Linked DNA regions of Homo sapiens: region 1 is linked to region 2. Evidence: promoter capture Hi-C in 16 types of primary human blood cells and fetal thymus (Javierre and others, 2016). All regions are on one chromosome and are shown on one strand. Each heading gives the region's core, a stretch centred on a gene start or on the middle of the fragment in contact. The rest is flanking DNA. Distances are from core to core; before and after follow the strand shown. Region 1 has its middle 11 kb from the start of MIR6125. Region 2 holds the start of ABCD2 (ATP binding cassette subfamily D member 2).

Evidence for each region. Contacts are between HindIII fragments. The CHiCAGO score rates a contact against its expected background, and 5 or more counts as called.
Region 1: a contact is called between a fragment that was not itself captured here and the fragment with the promoter of ABCD2 in region 2, in 1 of 17 cell types (total CD4 T cells). The highest score is 5.3, in total CD4 T cells.

The regions. Positions count from the first base shown.
Region 1 is chr12:62,246,362-62,252,204 of GRCh38, reverse strand. It overlaps a transcript of TAFA2 not described here. Among named protein-coding and RNA genes, the nearest start is that of MIR6125, 11 kb to the left of the region's middle. The HindIII fragment of the contact is 6,671 bases long and covers 1-5,687 here.
Region 2 is chr12:39,615,622-39,621,272 of GRCh38, reverse strand. ABCD2 (ATP binding cassette subfamily D member 2) reads left to right here and starts at 1,470. Exons shown (of 10, transcript NM_005164.4): 1 at 1,470-2,596; 2 at 4,105-4,285. The coding sequence starts at 1,658. RefSeq lists enhancers at 1,159-1,678, 1,989-2,068. The HindIII fragment of the contact is 3,952 bases long and covers 189-4,140 here.

The DNA.
Region 1 (5,843 bases), core at 1,103-3,602, about 23 Mb before region 2:
TAGTAAAGTATTGATGACCTGAGAAAGGTATGGTGACTCTCAAGGATGAGTGACTGGATCATCCCACCAGGTAAGCCAACAAGACCAGCAGAGGAGCTAGTCAAGGTGAGGAAACTCTAGAATGGTAGATCAGGAAGCATATATTGAGTATCACTTTTGGTCTTTGCAATGGAATCTATGTATCTCGCTAACTTTCTTCCCAAGTTCTGGAGCTGCTTCAAAAACTTTTGCAAAAATAAAGGTCTGAGTGGAGCATGGGGTGAATTGAATTGGATAATCTACTGTGCCATTAACATCATCCTTCATGACTAAAGAATTTATTCCTCTAGCTGCTGGGATTTCTACTGATCTCAGCTGTCAGTCTTCTTTGGGAATCACTCTCAATAGAAAAGAGGCACCCTGTGTAGTTCATGCTCTCTTCAGGGGGCAGCCAGTGTGCAATAACTAATTGATGTAGGGTTTTAAAGACTTGGCTTCATTTCCTCTATTGGAAACAACTGTGAGGAGCAATCTAGCTTCAGTGGGTTGGTTAAGTTCTTTTTATAAATTAATTACAGCCCACTTTCTTTCTCTGCTCAATCTTGTTTGCTTCCTTTCTTCCACAAGTGTTGATCCTGAGAGCACTTCTTTACAGGCTATTTTCCATCTCAGAGTCTGCTTTCAGGGCACTTGGGCCTGCACCACACCCTTGTTTTGGTCTTTACCCTGGCAGTGGCCAAAATTTACTTTTTCTTTGAGCTGGGGACATGTTGAGAAACAGTTTCATTTTTAAGCCTACAACTTTCAGTATTTCTAAACTCTCTATTTCCTCTCAATTCTGTTTGTAACCCAGGCAGTTCATTTTGAGCTCACCACTTTCTTATGCTTTTTCAAAGGCACCTGGCAGCAGCCTGCTCTTCAATATTCTTCTTTGAAATCACCTCATCCAAATTCACAAGTTTACTAGATCTGCATGTTCTGTATTCCATAGTATTGCAGGTGACAATTTTACCAAATGTTTTGCCACTGCATAATACTGTTGTCATTATTCCAGCCTCCTATAACAATTACATGACTACCTGCTGCCCATTCCCAAAGCCAGTGCCACATATTTTGGGTTTTAGTTATGGCAGCACTGTACTTTATACATCAAATTCTGAATCAGCCCAATTTTTCTGACTTTCAAAACACCCAAAGTCCTAGTGCCATACAACAATATACGCATATTTCCTACTCATGCATTTTTGGGTTAGCTGGAGATTGGCTGGTCTTGGCGAGACTCAGCTGCTCTCTGAGGATTAGGTCAGGTCCTGGTCTGTTCCACATATCTCTCATCCTCTTTAAACCAGAGGCTAGCTGAGTCATGTTCTCGTTGCAAAAAGAGATCAAGAGACAAGCCTAACTATGCAAGACCTCAATTAATATCAGGGAAGTACATTCCTTCTGTAGGAGAGGGGAAGGGAGTAATCATTTGCTGAAAATTTCTCTAATATACTGCTTTGCCAGAAAGATAAAGCATGAAAATATGGAAGAACAGTTAAGATACATAGAGAATGGCCAAAACCCAACATGTTTAATAGGAGTTCCAGAATAAAAAATAAACAGGCAATATTCAAAGACATAATACCTATTTTTTTTCCAGAATGGAAAAAAACCTCTAGTTTTTAGATTCAGAAATTACAATGAATTTAATAAGAACAAAACTCACACACATACACACCCACACACATCTATATGTACAGAAATTATAATGAGTTTGAGAAGAACAATAAAAATAAAACAAGTCATACATATACATGCATAACTATAAATACCTTGACCCATTCTCATGAACATAAAAATATGAACTCAGAGAAAAATCTTAAATATAAAAAGAAAAGATAGTTCCTTATTTTAAAAATGCGATTTAGATAGAAGCATTGGATAGAAAACTTATCATCAGTTATAGTATATGCCAGAAATATATGCCAGAATATCATCTTCAAAGTGCCAAGGGGAAAATTACTGTTAACTTAAAATTCTGTATTCAGTTAAAGTATTCAAGACGAAGGGAAATAAAGAGTTATTTTTAAAGAGACTGAATTTACAACATATTGATGCTTGCTAAAAGAAGTCCTTCTGCCTTCCACCATGAGTGCTTCTCACCAGATGCAGATGCCCCATCTTGAACTTTTACAGACATCAGAATCTGAGACAAATAAACCCTTTTTCATTATAAATTACCCAGACTCAGGTATTCCTTTAGAGTAACACTAAATGGACTAAGACATTACTTAATTTTAGGCCCCCCAAAAAAGTGAAACCACCCTTGCTAGACTGCCAATACTGTAATCCAAACCCGCTGTGAGGCACAGGTGGAGAGGGCAAAAATTCTCTTCAGGGCTCTTTGTCTGAATCTCCTGTTTAGAGATGGAGATGGAAACTCTTGCTCTTAAAGAAAAAAGAGAGTTTGAAAAAGAAGCCCACATAAAATGTAGACCTCACACTTTTGCACCCAGCGAAATATCTGGTGTTGGAAGAATGCAATGGGTTTTTGCTGGTACTGAGCACTGAGTCTGAGAGGGAACAATGGGTATTTGGAAGGTTGCTCTGAATCTTGCTGACTACACCAGAAATTTTGACCTAAGGGAAGAATCTCAGGCAAAGAGGAAGAAACTGAGGCACATTTAGCATATGCAAAGATCACATGGTGAGAGAGGAAAAGTGGGAGAGCGTGGGGAGAGGTGCCAGGCTCTTTTTAATAATCAACTGTCATGGGAACTAATAGAGTAAGAACTTACTCATTACCACAAGGATGGCATCAAGCTATTCTTGAAGGACACAGATTAAGTAGAGAGTTAATTTAAGCCAAAGGTGAGGACTGCAGCCTGGAAATCAGATTCTAGTTGCCCTCAATATATGCTCTGATTAACAGCAGTTACAAGTGGTCTTTTTCCTTTTTTTTTTTTTTTTTAGGAAAAAAAAGGAGGGAGCAGTCCCTAAGTTGTTTACCAAGAATTTAAAAAATAACAGTCTATCAATTGGCTGTACATTGTTCTTTCTATCACAAATTCCAGGAACATGAAGATACTGGGTGAGGGTCACATTGTGCAATGTGTGGTAACATTTTAGGTAATTTATCAGCTAGTCTGAAACCACAGGGAAGGAATGAAAAAAAAAAATTTTTAAACAATTACCCTGGGGCATGGGTGTGGGGGATGCGACTGAAGTATCATGCTCACTGCTGTCTGGGCCTGATAATTTTGCATCTCTCACATTCTTCAGACTGCTCTGAGCCATTTTCTCAAATGATGATTGCTAGATGCTGAGGGAAGGGAGCAATGGGTAGTTGTTGTTTAATGGGTACAGAGTGTCAGTTTTGCAAGATGAGTTTGGGAGACTGGGTGCACAACAATGTTAATGTACTTAACTACTAAATCACACACTTAAAAATGTTTAAGTTAGTAAATTTTATTATATATATTTTGCCGCAATTAAAAATAAAAAAGAATTTGAAGGGAAATAATTTCAACAAATAAAGTAAATGGAGTGGAAGGAGATATGGAGAGCTGGTAATAAACAGGCATTAAGTCCAGCAAGATGAATAAGCTCTAGAGATCTGCTTGACGACTTGGTACCTATAGTCAACAATAATTTACTGTACACTTAAAAATGTGTTGAGATCTCATGTTAAGTGTTCTTGCCACAATACAGTAAAATAATAAGTTTTACACATTTTTAAAAAGGTTATACACCTCATAAAAGTGATAGAGAAGGAGACAGCCAAATGCTGCCCAGGCCATTGTGCACAGGGAGCTTACCTAAACGTGCCCACAGTGAAAAATTCTGTCCCTTAACACATGCGTTGTATGTATAGACGAGCTCCTTGGGTTTTCCTACTTTGCTGTGCATTACAACTCATGTGTCATGTTCAAAGACATTCTGTCCCTTAACACATGCCTAGTAAGGGAAATAAATCAATATGGAGTGGCTCAAACTAAGGGCCCACCCCTGCACTGGGACAATGGGGTGGACCCACCTGGAATCCACACCTGATAAAGTTGGGCAAAGCCTGGCCTCTTCAGCTCATGTGTGGTGACCTGGTATTCAGTCTGTGAGGTGGAAGCCTGTTGAAAGGACCGCCTTTTTTCTGAGAGCTTTCTTTTAATAAATTCTGCTCTCCTCACCTTTCAATGTGTCCATGTACCTAATTTTTCCTGGTTGTGACACAAGAACAAGATTTTAGCTGAACTAAAGAGCAAAAAATTCTGCATCAAAAGGAGAGCCAAGAAAAGAAAAAGAAACAAAAACTCAAAAACTCAAAAAAAGAAACAGTCTTTCTAATTTTTCATTGATTTTAATTCAGTGACTATTTCTCTGAACAATAAAGTTGCAACTTATTTGAATAAAAACACTCAAAATAAAGGGAACACTAAAACTTACAACTGAATGTGTCATTTGCCTGATTATAGGTCTTTGGGAATCTGCAAGGTAACTTTTATTCCTGCAAGGTATAGATTTTAGCTTTTCTTTTAAAAATCTAATTGTTTATGGATCTTCTAGTTGGCCTGGTAAAAGGAAAAAATATATCACTGTGAAGTCACATTCTACGTAAGGGTTATGTTCCAAAGCTATCTAGAAAATTGTTGTGTAGTCAAAGGTACTGTTGAAAATTCCTTACTTTGCCCTTAAAGTAAAAAAATGCGGTTTTGTACTTTGAACATGACATGAGTTGTAATGCACAGTAAAGTAGGAAAACTCGAGGAGCTTGTCTACAAGAAAGAACAAGGCAAATGCTGATGTCTGCACTTTCAGAATGTTTGGTGATAATAGTTTTTGAGAGAAGTTGAATGAGAGTAAGTGGAATTAGAGTGCTCTCACTGACCTGTAGGGTTTACTCAATTCTGTTTTGACATTACACCTCTATAACTTTAATACTACACAATAATAAATGATTTTGTTGTGAAAAAAATGGTGGCGAGGAATTAGTTCCAACTTACATAAGATAGAAGTATCAGTTAACTTTAGATCTTAAGACAAGCATGTTAAAAATTTAAGGGTCACTGATTAAAAAAAGAGTTAAAAACTTTCAAAAGAGTAGAAGGGGGAAATAATACAGTAAATTAAGCAATCTAATATAAGGCAGACAAGGAAACAATAACAGCAGCATGCAGGAAAAAGAAGCAATGGAAGGCATAGCATATAGAAAACATATATATAAGATTGTAGAAATAAGGCCAAATATATTCACATTAAATGTAAATAGATTAATTTGACTTGTTAAAAATCAGAGGTTCTTATACCTAATTAAAAAAAACAAAACAAAACAGCCTTAAGCTGTTTATAAGAGGCATCTTAAAGACAGAAATGTTGAAAGTAAGAGGATAGAAAACAACATGCCAGGCAAATGGAATGCAAGATGAAAGAATACTGGTTTTGCTGGCATATCAAAATTTAGAGTTGTCTTTACATCTGCTATCAATCAAATATCAATAATACAGACTTTGAGGGAAAAAGACTTATTAGAAAAAAAGTCACTAATGGTAAAAAGAACAGCTTATTAGGAAAATGTACCATTCTGAATCTTTTTGTTTCTAAATAAATGACCTCAAAACACATAAAGCAGAAAGACAAAGAATTACAAGTAGAAAGTGACAAACTGTTTTAAAAACTCATAAAGCAAAAATTAGTAAAGATACAGAAGATTAGGACAACATAATTAACAAGCTTGATCTAATGATAATATATTGATTCTTCAGCCCAATTAAAGAATATAGGTTATTTCAAATAATGATGAAATATTTACAAAAATTGAGTAGTACAATCATAAAGCAAATTTCAACAAATCTAAAACAGTCCATGTGGTAAATACCACCTTGAAAACT
Region 2 (5,651 bases), core at 221-2,720:
ACTAAAACTACAGAAATTAGCCAAGTATGGTAGGCGCACCCTCGTAATCCCAGCTACTCGGGCTGCTGAGGCACCAACCTGGGAGGCGGAGGCTGCAGTGAGCTGAGATCGTGCCACTGCACTCCAGCCTGGGTGACAGAGAGAGACTCTGTCTCATAAAAAAAAAAAAAAAAAAAAAAAAAAAAGCTTTTTACATTTTCAAAAATATGCAGAATTGTCCTTGACTGTTGAACAATTTAAATCCTCCATTATGGATGTGAAGAATTTTAAGACTCTTAGTTTTTATCAAATAACCAAATGGAAATAGGAAGTAGCCAGTAGATTATCTCTACAGCTAAACAAAACAAACAAAGCAGAAACCTGCAAAAGACAAAGCATTCTTGAAAAATGAAGTAAGGTCCTAGAGAAGCTATTTCCACCATCCAACACCAGCTGAATTCCCAAATGGTTAAACTTTCACTATAAGTGCTACCCCACTCCAAGTAAAAACTACCTAACACATGGGAGTAGTAAACATGAAACATTGCTCTCATTTATTTAATAGTCGTCACCTTGTAAATAAATATGAGTACATCAGATCTCCAGTTATGGGGCTGGAAGATTTTTAGCATAAGGACAAGTAGGATGCAGAGGAAAAAGGGAGAATGGCTAGAGGCATAGCAAATAATTATTTTCTGTAACACGGAAGACTTTTATCCTATTTATTTACAAGGGAAACCCTCGATTACAACTTGTCTATTAGGTTCTGAGACCTTTTGTGAAATCAGACCCCCAAAAAAGCCGGGGGGATCTGTGAAAAACAGATCCAAGTGTATTTGATATTTGGCATTCTCCGGTGTCCCTCCCACTTGTCACTTTCTTTTCTGATCCGTTTCAGATTCATTCCATATCCTTTTCATATTCATTTTATGTTGATCCTCTTGTCCCTCCTCCCTCATTTTCGTGGTTCCTTCTCCCTCCTCGTCTCATTAAAACTCTTGCAAATCTCCCTTTCTGCTTGCTCTTCTGTTTGCGGTAGCTGCTGAAATCTTACCGAAGTGATGTATATTCTGAAACTTCTGCGGGTTTCTAAGTGACATTGAGCATGCTCAGTAGCTAGGGCCGGTTTTGTTCGCTTGGAAATCTCCCTTTCTGCTTGCTCTTCTGTTTGCGGTATCTACTGAAATCTTACCGAAGTGATGTATATTCTGAAACTTCTGTGGGTTTCTAAGTGACACTGAGCATGCTCAGTAGCTAGAGCCGGTTTTGTTCGCCAGCAGATGGCCTGATTCGACCTCTCCAAAAATAGACATTTTAACTCTCTGAACTCCTGTTTAAGGAAGGATGTAATTCGCTTTGCTCTCTCCTCATTTTCAAGGTTCAAAGGGAAGCTGCGAGGATTCCAAGGTCCCACCGCCCTCACAGCCAATGAGGGGCCTGGGAGGGAGGAGCTTGGTGCAGCTTGAGCTTCTGAGAGAATCATTCCCGGTAGATGCAGCGGAGTCTGAGCTCTGCTGCATCTGTCACAGCAGAACAAAATTAAAAACACAACAGTGGAAGAGAAACGCTGCAGACTATGGGACGCTGTAGGACTTTCTAAAACATTTGCTGGGGATTTCTGTGAAGCATGATCTTTTAAAACGAATTCTTTTGGAAGCCGGTTTGGGTAACTGGGAAAATGACACATATGCTAAATGCAGCAGCTGATCGAGTGAAATGGACCAGATCGAGTGCTGCTAAGAGGGCTGCCTGCCTGGTGGCTGCGGCATATGCTCTGAAAACCCTCTATCCCATCATTGGCAAGCGTTTAAAGCAATCTGGCCACGGGAAGAAAAAAGCAGCAGCTTACCCTGCTGCAGAGAACACAGAAATACTGCATTGCACCGAGACCATTTGTGAAAAACCTTCGCCTGGAGTGAATGCAGATTTCTTCAAACAGCTACTAGAACTTCGGAAAATTTTGTTTCCAAAACTTGTGACCACTGAAACAGGGTGGCTCTGCCTGCACTCAGTGGCTCTAATCTCAAGAACCTTTCTTTCTATCTATGTGGCTGGTCTGGATGGAAAAATCGTGAAAAGCATTGTGGAAAAGAAGCCTCGGACTTTCATCATCAAATTAATCAAGTGGCTTATGATTGCCATCCCTGCTACCTTCGTCAACAGTGCAATAAGGTACCTGGAATGCAAATTGGCTTTGGCCTTCAGAACTCGCCTAGTAGACCACGCCTATGAAACCTATTTTACAAATCAGACTTATTATAAAGTGATCAATATGGATGGGAGGCTGGCAAACCCTGACCAATCTCTTACGGAGGATATTATGATGTTCTCCCAATCTGTGGCTCACTTGTATTCCAATCTGACCAAACCTATTTTAGATGTAATGCTGACCTCCTATACACTCATTCAAACTGCTACATCCAGAGGAGCAAGCCCAATTGGGCCCACCCTACTAGCAGGACTTGTGGTGTATGCCACTGCTAAAGTGTTAAAAGCCTGTTCTCCCAAATTTGGCAAACTGGTGGCAGAGGAAGCACATAGAAAAGGCTATTTGCGGTATGTGCACTCGAGAATTATAGCCAATGTAGAAGAAATTGCCTTTTACAGAGGACATAAGGTAAGATAGAAATTAAGGTGATGGGTGAAATGTGAAACTGTTCAAGTTGCCACTGCAGTGCCAGATACCATCTGTTGTCCTGTCGATGGACCCACTTCTTTAGTGTCTTAGATTCCTCTGACATCTAAACCTGAATTAAAATATATGCTTCATTACCCCTTTTAACTGTAACCAGTTAAAGGATTATAGGGTGCAAACTTTTCTAAAGTTTCAGAAGAATAAAATTTGCAACACTCTAAAAAAGTCTACTTAGCCTCAGTTACTCAAATATGCTCAGAATTATTTCTAACGCATTTTCTTAAAACTTAAATCCCAACTTGGTAGGTCATCCTAAAGCACCTACCAGAAGAAAATATATATTTAGAAACTAAGACTAAACATATTTCCACTGAAATGGAAAATTTAGAATGATATTCTTTGTTGTTCCTTTGTTGTCCAAGAGGGGGGAAGAGCCAGGGTTTCTTATAGAAGACATTTTTAACAATTTTGCATGTCTGATCAATATGGAGCATCCCCATTCCCAAGAAGCGTAGGAGAGTGTCTCACAAAATGGCATTTCTACTACTCTTAGTTCATGTTCAGCACTGTACTTTGACAAAATGAAAAGAGGAAGTGAAATGAAATTTTGTCTAGCTTTGAAAAAAAAAAAAAGCTGAAATTAGAGAAGAAATGAGGAGTACAAAAGGAGTTTCAGAATGTTTTTAATTATTAAAGATTTTCAACATTAAGCAGATCCCTAAAACAATTAGCCCAATTATACATACTAACAGTGCATGAAGGTAACTTCAGAATATGAAATGACAGAAATTTTGAAGGCAATGCAATCTTAATTTAAATGACTTGGTGAATAAAATAAAGTATTCTACTGTTGAAGATGGCATGTCAATCACCAAGCAGAATTATTTAATTTTTAAAGCATCTGTAATTATCAGTGTCTTTAATAGCAGTAGCAACCTGAAAAATAATATTTAAAGTAAATTTAGGAATCCTACTCCCACTTGAAAATTGACCTCATATATTGTATTATATCATATTGATTTGTGATTCTTCTTGAACTATTGAATTCAATGATATAAATTATAGTGTGCTTAGACTTCTTGCATAAAAGACAAAATCCAACAAATTGAGTCAGTTCAAAAGTGGAGTCTATACATATATATGTCATGTGTCCATTTTCAGATATTTTTGGTGTAATCAACAAGGACAAAGCTCTAATAATTGTTTATTCATGTCTCATATAATATCATTTAATTTTAACATCTCATACATAAAATTTAAATATCATAACTATAAATTACTTATATGTATTTTATACCTAACATTATGTCCACTGAGTAGCATAAACTTTTAAAAATAATACACATGTGACCAAAACTAAATAATAACTAATACTGGTATTAATCTGCATTTATTGGTTAAGATGCATAGATAATGCCATACTAAAAAAAAAAAAGAATAATATGTATATATCTTTAAAAAAAGTCCTCAACTCTTTTTCCTCTCTATAGGTAGAAATGAAACAACTTCAGAAAAGTTACAAAGCTTTAGCAGATCAGATGAACCTCATTTTATCCAAACGTTTGTGGTACATCATGATAGAACAGTTCCTGATGAAGTATGTTTGGAGCAGCAGTGGACTAATTATGGTGGCTATACCTATTATCACTGCAACTGGCTTTGCAGATGGTGGTAATGACATTTATGCTTAATCTCAAATATATTTTTAACATTATTTCTTTTGAAGTTGTCATTGCTAGTTTTATGTGAGCTAAACTGTGTACATGGTCATATTCTAGTTAACAATGGTCCGAAACAATGGCAGACTTTACAGCGTCCAGTGATAAGACCAGCAGTATGAAATAAGGAGACAGTGGTTCAAAGACGTTCCCAGTTCTGAGCTATTTCAGAGATCTCTGATGCAGTGTTTCTCGGAGTTGACCTTGAGCAATTTTAATTATATTGCCTAATATAGGATGATTCTTTAGTTTACACTTAACCTCAGAATAAGTTAGTACCCTCAGAAAGAGTATAACACAAGCATTCCTCATGTGTTATAAACATTAGTTCTATACATCCCATACATTTAGTCTATAAATATTCTATAACTGAATTTGCCCTGCTTTGCGATTTGAAAAGTCCATTGACTACAATGGGCAAGCAGGAATATTGCTTCAGAGAATGCTTAAGTGCCATGGAATAAGGGCTCCTCTGCTTGTGAATAATACAGATAACCTCTTATGCAGCATGATTTGGTGGTTTTGTAGGAATGGTGGTTGTCAAGCTGCAGCTGGCTAATTCTATCCTACCACTGTCTCAACAGTTTTTAATAACAGTTTTTATTCTTTGGAATAACAAAGAAAGATAAGGGCAAGGAAGAAAAGACAATGTTAAAATGTTGTATCATCCTTGGATGGGAGCTTGGATCTTAATTGGTTGGAACAGAGAAGAATTAACTGAAGAAGTATTTTCTACTCTTTTCCTAAAATAAGACATCCCTCCTTAAAAATCACTGGACTAAAATTGGCCAGAAGCATAGGCTTTGTAGTGAAACAGAGTTTTGTTCAACTTTTGGTTCCCCCTCTTCCTACGTGTATCCTCTTAGTCTGTTTAATTAGAGTTGATTAAACTCTCTATACCTTAGTTTCCTCATTTGTAAAATGAGAACCAGAAAGGCTACTTCAGAGAATTGTTGTGAGGATTTAACTGAATAATGTTTATGAAGTACAGAGCATGTTATACTTGATATATGGTGACAATTATTACCTAGAAAATAAAAGGTGACAATTATTACCTAGAAAACTAAGAATATTGTTACAGAATCTGCACTGTTTTATAGTTATTTTGTACAGAATTAAGGATGAATAGTTATTTGTTTGAAGTGATCTAATAAAAACAATAATTATAATATGCCTTAATGTTTTGAAACAGTGCTTCAATGTTTTAACCAGTCCTTACAAAAACACTTGTCAAAGTTGAGTTATTCTTAACATAAATATGTTCATTTCAGTAAGTTAGTATTTGTCAGCCTTTCTTTGTGGCAAGTGTTATGCATATA